Linked DNA regions of Homo sapiens: region 2 is linked to region 1. The links are contacts of gene promoters, found by promoter capture Hi-C in blood cells and fetal thymus (Javierre and others, 2016). All regions are on one chromosome and are shown on one strand. The core of a region is centred on a gene start or on the middle of the fragment in contact, and the rest is flanking DNA. Distances in the headings are between cores, read along the strand shown. Region 1 holds the start of MMP2 (matrix metallopeptidase 2). Region 2 overlaps LOC105371269 (a long non-coding RNA gene).

What was found. The method cuts DNA at HindIII sites, captures the fragments that hold promoters and counts their contacts. A CHiCAGO score of 5 or more calls a contact.
Region 2: a contact is called between a fragment that was not itself captured here and the fragment with the promoter of MMP2 in region 1, in 1 of 17 cell types (total CD4 T cells). The highest score is 7.1, in total CD4 T cells.

The regions. Positions count from the first base shown.
Region 1 is chr16:55,477,247-55,482,415 of GRCh38, reverse strand. It overlaps MMP2 (matrix metallopeptidase 2), which reads right to left and starts at 3,218. Exons shown (of 13, transcript NM_004530.6): 1 at 2,784-3,218. The coding sequence starts at 2,936. The HindIII fragment of the contact is 12,132 bases long and covers 1-5,169 here.
Region 2 is chr16:53,543,989-53,549,933 of GRCh38, reverse strand. LOC105371269 (a long non-coding RNA gene) reads left to right here. Exons shown (of 8, transcript XR_933588.4): 4 at 1,337-1,510; 5 at 1,612-1,668; 6 at 2,980-3,049; 7 at 4,246-4,450; 8 at 4,776-5,596. Among named protein-coding and RNA genes, the nearest start is that of AKTIP, 44 kb to the right of the region's middle. RefSeq lists a silencer at 2,781-2,960 and an enhancer at 2,518-3,019. The HindIII fragment of the contact is 601 bases long and covers 1,542-2,142 here.

The sequences.
Region 1 (5,169 bases), core at 1,969-4,468:
ACCTTGCGGCTGGTGACTTGGGGACTTTTTTCCTCCTGTTTTCTTCTAAAGAGATTCAAGGACTATGTGCATGGGCTCTGGCAGTAGACAGACCTGGGTTTAAATCCTGAATCAGCCATTTGCAAAAAGAAAGTAGTCCTGTCCTTCATGAGTCATACAACTGGCCCTGCCCAAACTGAGGCCCAAACTGAGCAGGTCCCTGCAGAGGTTCAGGGAGCAACCGACTCATTTATTTATTCAACAAATACTTTTTAATACCTACCATGTACCAAGCCCAGTGCTACTGCTGAGGAAAAACAGGTGAAAAAGATAGACAATTCTGTCTCTAAGGTTCAAATCCTAGCAGGGAGGCTGATAGATCCCAAATAAAACAAAATGAAGTATGTGATAAGTACTGTGTTAGAATGTTGAAAGGAGCCAGGAGATCTTCTGACAACGGTCCTAGCCTTGTTGGAAGTAGTTAGGAAAGGGGAAATGGAGGACATAACAATAATAATAATATAATAGAATAATGGCTAGTGCTTATTGAGTACTTACCATGTGCTAGGTAAGCACCTAAGATTACCTCTCTTTTAACCCTGAGATAGGAAATTTCCCAGTTTGCAGATGAAGAAACTGAGAAGTCACTTGCCTAACATCATCACTAGGCCAGCTGGTTGGTTCATGCACTCTTTGATTTGAAGCCAAGCGGTCTAAGTCCAGAGTTATCTTCTTAAGCCCCCACTGCATTGCCTCTGGACAACACAGACTTCCATTTGTCAGAGGTGTTCAAACCAGGCACCTCCATCTTGAGTGGGGGGCTGGGTAAGATGAGGCTGAGACCTGCTGTGCTTCATTCCCAGGAGGGCAGGCATGCATTCTTAGTCACAGAATGAGACAGGAGGTTGGTAGGACTGATTTCACCATATACAGTTCGGGTCACAAAGACCCCTATGATAAAACAGGATGCAGTAAAGAAGCTGGAGAAAGCCCACCCAAACCAAGACTGCAATGAAAGTGACCTCTAGTCGTCCTCACTGCTCATTATATGCTAATTATAATGTATTAGCATGTTAAATACATTAGACACTCCCACCAGCGCTGTGACAGTTTATAAATGCCATAGCAACATTGAGAAGTTACCCTATATGGTCTAAAAGGGAGAGAAACCCTCGGTTCCAGGAACTCCCCACCCTTTTTCTGGAAAACTCTTAAATAATCCACCCCTTGTTTAGCATATAATCAAGAAATAACCATATGTATACTCAGTCCAGCAGCCCATTCCCTGCTCTGTCTATGGAATAATCACCCTTTTATTCCTTTACCTTCTTAATAAATTTGTTTTCACTTTACTCTGTTGGCTCGCTCTTGAATTCCTTCCTGTGCAAGCCAAGAACCCATGTGGCCCCCAGGCTGAACCCCAATTTAGGGGTTCATCCTGTGACCCATTGGCTGGAAAAGGTGTAGGAAACCAAGTAGCTTTGTCATTGTCCCAAAGCTCCACTCTCACCCCCACCCAACAGCCACATCATTATGCCAGCCAGCTCCAGATCCTTGAAAAAAGTAGCCCTCTAAAAATGTATGGAGGTTTCCCAACCCATCTATCCAGAGGGGGCTGAGACCTAGCTGTTTGGAAGGGTGAGAGTTGGGAGAGGGTAGTTGTCACCTCCTGAAGGAGTTCCTAGGGTGACCAGAGGGCATGGGCGTCTTCTCCCGGACAGGTTGAGGGGGAGGCTGGAGGGCAGGGTGGCTGAAGCAACAAGGGAGCAGATATCCCCTGGACTGGAAAGGACATCTTGATGGGTCCCTGGCCTGCCTCTCTCCTCAGGCCCTACTTACGCAACACTGCGGCCAGGCTCAGTGCCCCTCCAGCCAGGCGCGCGCACGCTCACAAGACAACATCTGAACCGCGGTTTGGGAGCCCAGCCAGGAAGGAGGGCTCTCTGGCCGCTCTCCGACCCGAGCGGAGCGCAGTCCGCCCCCGCCCCACGCGCCGGGCCCTCCAGCGCCTGCCCCACTCCTCCTCCCTCCTGCCGGGCCAGCTCTCTCCTTCTTTTCTCCGACCCTTTGGAGAAGTTCGAGGAAACTTTCCGAGGCCCAGCCCTTGACCAATTTGTCCATTAAGCCAGGAGAAAAAAGATGCGCTCTCTGCTTCCCTCCTGCCCCAATCACTTCCCAAATGGCCCCCTCGAGCTGTTTGTTTAAAGGTCCCTCTCCGGATCTGTGCCGAAGGTTCCTAGAAATTTGCCAAGCCCCGCTTTGACCAAGCTCCCTCCCATCCTTATGCGCGCATAAGTTTACCCAAATTGTGTGCCAGAGCACCGTTCCCAAAGTCCTACATTAGCAAAAACGACCCCTGTAGCTGTTTGCCAAAGGCTTACCTAGACGCTTGGCAAGAGCCCTTAGCAACTGCCCAGATGTGTCCAAAAGTTGTTTACAAAGACCGCCCCCCCCCCCCGCCAAATGTCCCAGATACTAGAGGATGTCCCCGCTATTTACATAAGAGTCCCTTTCCAGTAGTTTGCCAGGTCACCCCTCTCCCACTCTCTGGCTTGTTTTTCGCCCCACTGCTGTATGCTGAAGGTTGCCAAATTGTTTATCAAAGGTTTTCTTTGCTTACAAAAGATCCCCCACCGTTTGCAAGAGATCACTCCAATAGCTTGCCAAAGACCCCCCAAGCTGTTTACCGAAGCCCCTCCCCCACGCTGTGTGCCCACCGCCGAGGGCAGGGGGAGAGACACCCCCATCCTTTGCCTCCGAAGTTTGTCTAAACGTGGTTCCTTGAGGCCAGCGCAGCAACTCACCACTGCCAACTCTTTGTCCGTTTTGGGGGCGACATCGCCGGGGAACTTGATGATGGGCGACGGCGCGGCGGCGGCGTGGCTCAGCAGGCAGCCCAGGAGACAGAGCGCCCTCAGGGGACCCGTGAGCGCGCCCCGGGCCATTAGCGCCTCCATCGTAGCGCTCCCTGGCCCCGCGCGTCGCCCGGGGGTCGCTGGCTCGGTGCGTGTGGCCGCCTCGCCGCCTGGTTGGAGCCTGCTCCGCGGCGCAGGGCTGCGCTCCGAGGGTCCGCTGGCTCGGTGGCCTGGGGTTTGCCCGGCTCAGCGGCTCATGGTCCGGCCCCCGCGCCCCAGCCCCCGCCGCCGCCGCCGCCGCCGCAGGTCCTGGCAATCCCTTTGTATGTTTAAAGCCCCAGATGCGCAGCCTCCAGCCACCGCCTGAGGAAGTCTGGATGCAGCGGAAACAAGGGAGGGCAGCCGCCAGATGTAGCCGGCTGGGCTGGGAGGGAGCTGGCAGAGCGGGGCTGGGGGCGGGGGGCGCACTCGGGCCCGCCCCTCTCTGCCCCACCCCCCTACTCGCCCTCCTCCACTTTTCTCCTCTTTTTTCCTTTCTCCACCTCTTTTCCCCGGCCGCCTGCTACTCCTGGCCTCTACGTCCACCCTCAGTGCACGACCTCGTCACCCCACTTGCCTCTCTCGCGATCTGGGCGCACAGCCTCAGAACCCCCTGCTGGGAAACATCTGTCGCTCTAGGCCCTTGACGTCCTGAGGTTAGAGAGCAGCGGTACTACTAGGAGGGACGCCGGCTTGGCTAGGACACCCTGCACTCCCTGGGGTCAGGAACGGGAAGGAATGGTCAGAAACAGATGATCAGCCACAATGATAGATGGTCAGAGACAGAAATTTTCGATATTTAGGGATAGGGACAGAGAGATTCTGGGATGAACAGAGATGGAAAGAGAGAGATGGAAACAGAGACAGTGGAAGGTCCCAGGTTGCTTCCTTACCTCTTTCCTTCTGCAAATGTGTAAGCCTTAACTTGGCCTCGTATAGTGCGAGATGCTAGATACACCTTGGGAAATAGAGCAGTCAGGGGCCCCGCGTTAGAGACGTTGGAACCAGAGCGACTCCATCTTGAACAGGGGGCTGGGTAAAATGAGGCTGAGACCTGCTGGGCTGCACTCCCAGGAGGGTCCGCATTCTCGGTCACAGGATGAGATAGAAATTGGGCAAGACTGGTTTAATAAGATAGAGGTCACAAAGACCCCACTGATAAAACAGTATGCAGTGAAGAAGCCAGCCAAAACCAAGATGGCAAAGAAAGCGACCTCTGGTCATCCTCACTGCTCATTTTACGCTAATTATAATGCATTAGCATGTTAAAGGAAGCACCCACCAGTGCCATGGCAGTTTATAAATGCCATGGCAATGTGGGGAGGTTTACCCTATATGGTCTAAAAAGGGGAGGAGCCCTCAGTTCCACGAATTCCCCACTCACTCTTGAATCCTTTCCTGCGCCAAGCCAAGAATCCATGTGGCCTCTCAGGTCGAATCCCAATTTTGAAGTTCTCCCTGTGACAACCGTCTCTGAGGAATGTCTTCTCCCTCTCTCAGGAAAGACAGTTGAGAGATAAGCTGTGATGGGGAACTCCAGCAGGCTGTTGGGAACGCCTGACTTCAGCCCCTAAACTAGTAAAGACAATCAAGGAAGGCTTCCTGGAAGAAGTGACTTCTGAGCTGAGACCTGAAGAGCTAAAGAGGTGGAGTGCTGGGTGGGGAATATGGGGAATGTTTTAGGGAACATTGACAATGGCCCAGAGATGAAAAACAGCAAGAGGCACTGGAGAAGAAAGTTTTTTCTATCTGAAAAAGGTGGGGCACAGGGTGAGGGGATGGAGCTGGAGGGGTCAGTAAGGACCAGCCTAGGAAGGGGGCAGATAGGACTGGGGGTCAGCAGGGAACAGTTTGAGAAGTAAGGTCAGGGGCTGAAAGAATCAGGAGCAATATACTTGTGGGGGGCATTGGAGGTCACGATTATGTCTTGATCATCACAGCTAGAAAAGTCTCTGCGGCTTGGGTCTCAGTGGGCTTCAGACAAGTTCAGGCTTGTCTGGTGGGTGTGTGCTCTGACTTTCCAGAGTCAGTTTTAAAGGACCCTCTTGGGAGGGACCTTGCCCCGCAGGAGGGAGCCAGGCCCTTCAGCCTGACCCAGTGACAAACCTTGGCTGTTTTGGAGAGGGCGAGACTGAGGTCAGTTGGGAAGGGGGATTGCCTCCTGGCCCAGCCCCACTGGGCTCATGTCCACGTCCTGTGGATAGCCAGAGAGCCAAGTTGGAGAGCTGAGAGCTGAGAGTGAAAATGGAAAAAGTTATCTCACTAAAGCAGGGGCTGCAAACTCGTGGCCTGTGGG
Region 2 (5,945 bases), core at 593-3,092, 1.9 Mb after region 1:
TAGCATCCTTTTAGCCAAAATTGGTTTGGAATTTCTATTTTAAACCACTGTTTGTTATGAATTGAGTTAAATGTCTTTTTTTTTTTTAACACATTTTCCCTATTTTAACAATGGAAAAAATAAAAGCCCTTAAAATACTAAGATTGCATTTTCTTTCATTCATTCAACAGCTAATTAGCACCTACTGCGTGTCTGGCTCTGTGTTAAGTGCAATAATTAAGTCAGATCTGAATGCATCCTATTATTTACTCATCAGAGGGTATTTTTGCTACTTGTCCTTTATGTCTGGAACATTTCCACAGGAATAGTGAGAGAGGAAGAACCGAGACAACCTGTGAATATAGTGTTTGGGACAAGTTAGAAACACAAGGAACATAGAATCTTTTCATGACAAAGTGGAAGCTGGAAGTCAGTCCCATAAAGGCCAGTAAGATTTTTATCCTGTTCTATTATTTTTTTCCTACTCAGAAGTGGAATTAGTTTTTTCCTACTTAAAAAGTTACCAGCTGAAGTCAGGTGCGGTAATCCCAGCATTTTCGGGGATCGAGGTGGGCAGATTGCTTGCACCCAGTAGTTCAAGACCTTCCTGGGCAACATCGGGAGAGCCCCATCTCTACAAAAATACAAAAATTAGCCATGTGTGGTGGCGCACACCTGTAGTCCCAACTACTTGGGAGGCTGAGGTGGGCGGATCGCTTGAGCCTGGGAGGTTGAGGCTGCAGTGAGCCAAGATCACACCACTGCACCAACAGCCTGGGTGCAGTGGCTCATGCCTGTAATCCCAACACTTTGGGAGGTTTGGGTGGGAGGATCCCTTTAGCCCAGGAGTTTGAGATCAGCCCAGGCAACATAGTAAGACCCTGTCTCTACCAAAAAATATTTTTAAATAGCTGGGTGTGATGGCACATGCCTGTAGTCCCAGCTATTTGGGAGGCTGAGGCGGAAGGATTGCTTGAGCCCAGGAGTTCAAGATTGTAGTGAGCTATGATCACACCACTGCACTCCAGCCTGGGCAACAGAGCAAGACCCTGTCGCTGAAAATAAATAAATAATATTTGCTTTGTGCAGAAAATTTGGAAAACAAGACAAAAAGGAATTTAAAAATCTCAGTTATAATCCTATCAACCAAAGATGACCACTGTTAACTTTACATGGTACTATAATTTTCATTAACCCATAGGAGAGGAACTTTCTTTCATGTCACTGCATATTCCTCTATATGATTTTGAATGGCTACAGAGTATTCTTTCATATGAGCATACCATAATTTACTTATGCCACACATGATTACTGACTTTTAACAATGATAAGGTTTGTACTGATGACATTTCTTAAGATACACTCTTAGCTCTGGAACTTCTGGATCAAAGAGGGCATGTACCTTCAAGGCCTCTGAGACATATATCAAGTTGCCATCCAGGGTCAACCTCCTAGAATTTAACATCGCATCTGAAACCAAAATCTAACTTCAGGAGCCCAGAGCATTCACAGTTCCAGAAAGAGTGTGATGGTAAGTGGTGATCCTTGGTGTTCGGGAAGCTTTGCAGGGCATCCCAGCTGGAGGTAGTCAAAGTTATCAGAATGGTTTTTGATAAATTCTTTACCTTGTAGATGATTTAGACTGGAGTGCCTCCAGGAAAGCAGGAAGCAAGACATGTTTTTAACCTGGTAAGTATTTAGTCAATAGAGCATTACCAAGGGCTCAGGAGATTAAGAAAGACAGGATTATTTTAATGTATCTTCATCACCCAAACCTCACCACTTGTCATGGTTAATATCACCCCTGGCTTATTTTTCCTGTTCCCACATTCTGTCCACAGTTTGTGCCCACAGATACTTTGCCCTTTCCTCTCCTCCATGTCTTATAAGGTGAAGCTGGGTTCCTCTGAGGTCACAGAGCTGTGGTAACTACATCCAGTGGGTGTTAGAAAAAACCCTGGCCCCTCTCAGATGTGAGATGTGGTCTAAGGACTCAATACACTGACTTAGGGAAGACTTGAGCTTTTTTCTTTGGAACTGAAACATTTTCCATATGTTTATATAGAGTTGTGGCAACAACTCAAGGGATATGAAAAGCAGATTTTACAAGAGTATGATTGCACAGCAAAAGTCAGTTTTGGGTTAATTTTGGAAAGAGAAGCTTTGATTTTACTGTGTGCCTAGTAGACAATGTCCCATCAGTCACACACAAAGGAAGAATGTCGGCAGAGAATCCCATAAAGTTAGCACCTAATGTAACTAGCGTTATTGGAAGTTGAGGCAGAGACAAGGGCTGCCCAAGGTCATGGTCACGGTAAGAGGTGGGTGTAAGCTGCCTTTCTGCCTACTGGCTCAGTGATCATTTTAAAAGAGGGTGACTTAACTACAGAAGTAAAATGTGACTGCCTTAGTTGTTAGAGAGCAAGAAGACACTCAACTGCATAAGGGGAACCAGCAGCAGGGCTCCTACTAGAGGCTGGAGTCTCTTGGGAAGAAACAATTTCCCACCATGTGTTCCCTTGCGTGCTTGGCCATGGTAAGGCAGAACATGGAGGGTGAAATCAGACCTCAATCTTTTCTCTGATTCATCTTTCTGCAGGCAAACACCTCTCAGGAGAAGGAGACAAATTGTTGACTTGAAACCCAGTTTTCCTGCCCTGGCAGTAACTGCGCAGAGTGGGGGAGGGTGGACATAACCCTGGGGCCTCTCTGTTTGTATTGAATGTTCTCATCACCCTGACATCCTTGCAGTTTCCCTTTAATGCACGTGTGTCATGCTGAGAGTGCAAATGACTGTCTTGGGAGTTCTGTTTTTCCTACTTGTCCCCGCCTTCCCTGTGTGTCTGGGGCCCATGGATGTTCAATGGGACAGGGGCTAAAGTGGCCGCCAGGGGACAGAGTTGCTCACCTGCATAGCACCTTCCCTCCACCCTCCATGCACTGATGGATGGAACTTCTCATGGGTTTTTGGTCCACCGCACTCTATTTTTTTTGTTCCAGGGTTAAAAACATGGAGAAAGCTTGAGGCAGGGAGGATCTCCTTACTGCAGATAAAAAACCCAAGGCAGAGGTAATCAATACCTCATTCTTTAATAGCTCACAGTGGGACCCTTGAGCACACCAGACAACACAGCAAAGATCATAATTATGCTGATAGAAGTAACTTACAGGGTCAGATGCCTCCTGTCTGTCCATCTCTTAACCATATGATCTTTTACTTTATGTGGCAATGAAATAAAATATTTTGAGGCTGGCATTTCAGTCGGTCCAAGTTACAAATACAGCTGAGCACTTTTCTAAGCCATTATTTCCCCAGCTGGAAGTGAAAGTTAATAATTTTGCCCCAACTCTCAAACCCCATCACCACTTGCTTCTCAGGGATGCAGTGACAAGACAAGAGATATTTGCAATATTTGCAGTGTTTTCCAGACTTTTCTGATGCCAAGAAGCACCTGGGAAACTTGTCCAAATACAGACTTCCAGCCTAAACCCTGGTCTTACTGAATAAGTAATTGTAGGATGGGCCTGGGCATCTGTAGTTTTATTTATTTATTTTGAGATGGAGTTTCGCTCTTGTTGGCCAGCCTGGAATGCAGTGGCACAATCTCGGCTTGCTGCAACCTCTGCCTCCCAGGTTCAAGTGATTCTCCTGCCTCAGCCTCCCGAGTAGCTGGGATTACAGGCACCCGCCACGACGCCCAGCTAATTTTTTGTATTTTTTAGTAGAGATGGGGTTTCATCATGTTGGCCAGGCTGGTCTCGAACTCCTGACCTCAGGCGATTCACCCGCCTCGGCCTCCCAAAGTACTGGGATTACAGGTGTAAGCCAGCATGCCGGCTGGGCATCTATAGTTTTATAAGGCTCCCAGCTGATTCTTATGATTGGGTGATCATTGGCAAGTTTGGGAAATGTTAAGTTAATCACCATGAAATCCTTCAATGCTTCAGAAGATGTCAAGCTCTGAACACTTAAAGAAGCATTTATTGCCATTCTTATTGCAGGCCAGGATTGCCAGTTTAGCTAATAAAAATATAGGATGTCCACTTAAATTTGTATTTCAGATAAACAAGGAATGATGTTTATTTTTAGTATATCCCATGCAATATTTGGGATATACAAAAAATATATTTTTATCTGGTGACCCTGTCGGATGCTTTGCACTCCATTTATTTTATTCTATGGGAGAGCTAGGAGAAAAGTATAATCCTTAGAGGAAGAAAGTGTGCCATGGTAGAAGTGTGCACATCTTAGATTCCCCTCCGCAGGCTGCTCAGCTCCTCATTCTTTTCATGTGGCCACCACTCGCCTGCTTGCCAGGAAGAGGAAGCTCGGCAGCCGGCTCTTCATCATGCCGACAAAAAACGCTGCTGTTACTGAAGAAGACAAAGAAACCACTTTTAAAGATAAAAAGAGGTTTTGAAGCATTACTTCGCATTCTGCTTGTTCGGATCTCATGAGACAGTGAAGCAGGTATGCCATTCATTTGCCAATGCATTTGCTGATTTCAAAATAACTTAAGTATTTCTAAGCTATACACCAGGGGTGTCCAATCTTTGGCTTCCCTGGGCCACATTGGAAGAAGAATTGTCTTGGGCCACACATAAAATACACTAACACTAACAATAGTTGATAAGCTAAAAAAAGAAAAGAAAGAAAGAAAAAAAATTGCAAAAAAAGTCTCATAATGTTTTAAGAAAGTTTACAAATTTCTTTTGGGCTGCATTCAAAGCCATCCTGTGCCACAGGTTGGACAAGCTTGCTATACACATTTTTTTCCTCTGGCAAAATTTTCCAGGCCACTCAGTCCCATGGTGTGGATGCTGCCTCTGTCCAATGATACCTGACACCAGATCAAGGGTTCTTCCCAGTATAGACACCTCTCAGTTGGAAAGGGTTACAATCATCCCAATTTGGAAATCCCATCATCAATTGTAAAACAGACCTCCCCAAGGTGAGAAGGGGCGGGGGAATGTAGAGCTGAATATGAAAATCTGAAGGACTGCATGGTCTAAGAATGAAATGTTTTCTAAATAAAATTAAGCTACACGGTGGAAATTGAGGAGAAAGTCCTTAAGGTGACTTTTAAATGAAAATGAAATGTCTGTTAGTAAGTTACAGAGGTGCAATGATACCAAGTGGCAGGCTTGTGTCTTGTTAATTTCAAACATAGATTTTTATGTGAGGCTATTTGATTATAATTTGATTATCTGACCCTGTAATTAAAGTTTATTGCCAATTTGGAAGCTTACATGTAAAATGAACTGGTTTTCTTCAAAGCAATATACAATCTTTTGGACTCATTGACTTCTGGTTTTGCATTTAAATGGAAAAGTCAGTTATAACGTGACAAACAGGTTGGGGTTTTGATCATTAATCCTGCTAAAGCAATATTCATAAATTCAATTCTGAATCAGTTGGAATACTTTTCTTTTATTAGTTTCTGTGTTATTAAATGAGATTGTTTCTGACTAATATATTTCTGGACTCAAACTGTAGCTCCAAGCTGTTATTCAAATCAAATAACATGCCCCTTACTTGTGCCTCGCACTAATAAATGCCAACTTGTGATACATTTGCAAGAGACTGTCAGCAATATTAAAGGAGGCAATAATGGCATGGAGGTCTCAAAGTGAGCTGATTTTTCTAATGGCTGATATTCGTCGTTTTTCTTACACACACACCCCAGATATTCGAACCTTTTAGTCTTAAACCCAAAAGTATGCTTTGATTCACATACACATAATTCGCTGGCACTTTAATGACTAAGACATTGGAGTTAGATAACTCATAACTTTAGGATCCTCAGTGAGAGATCCTAAAGTTTGAAGCTGCTCTGCCGATTTCAGAGCAGAATCAAAGTTATAATTAGAAAGACAACTGCTGCTTAATTTGGGAAAGGAGATGGGTCCTTCTTTTCAATATTTGGGTGGGATGGAGAGGTTACATTGCTTTTTTTTTTTTTTTT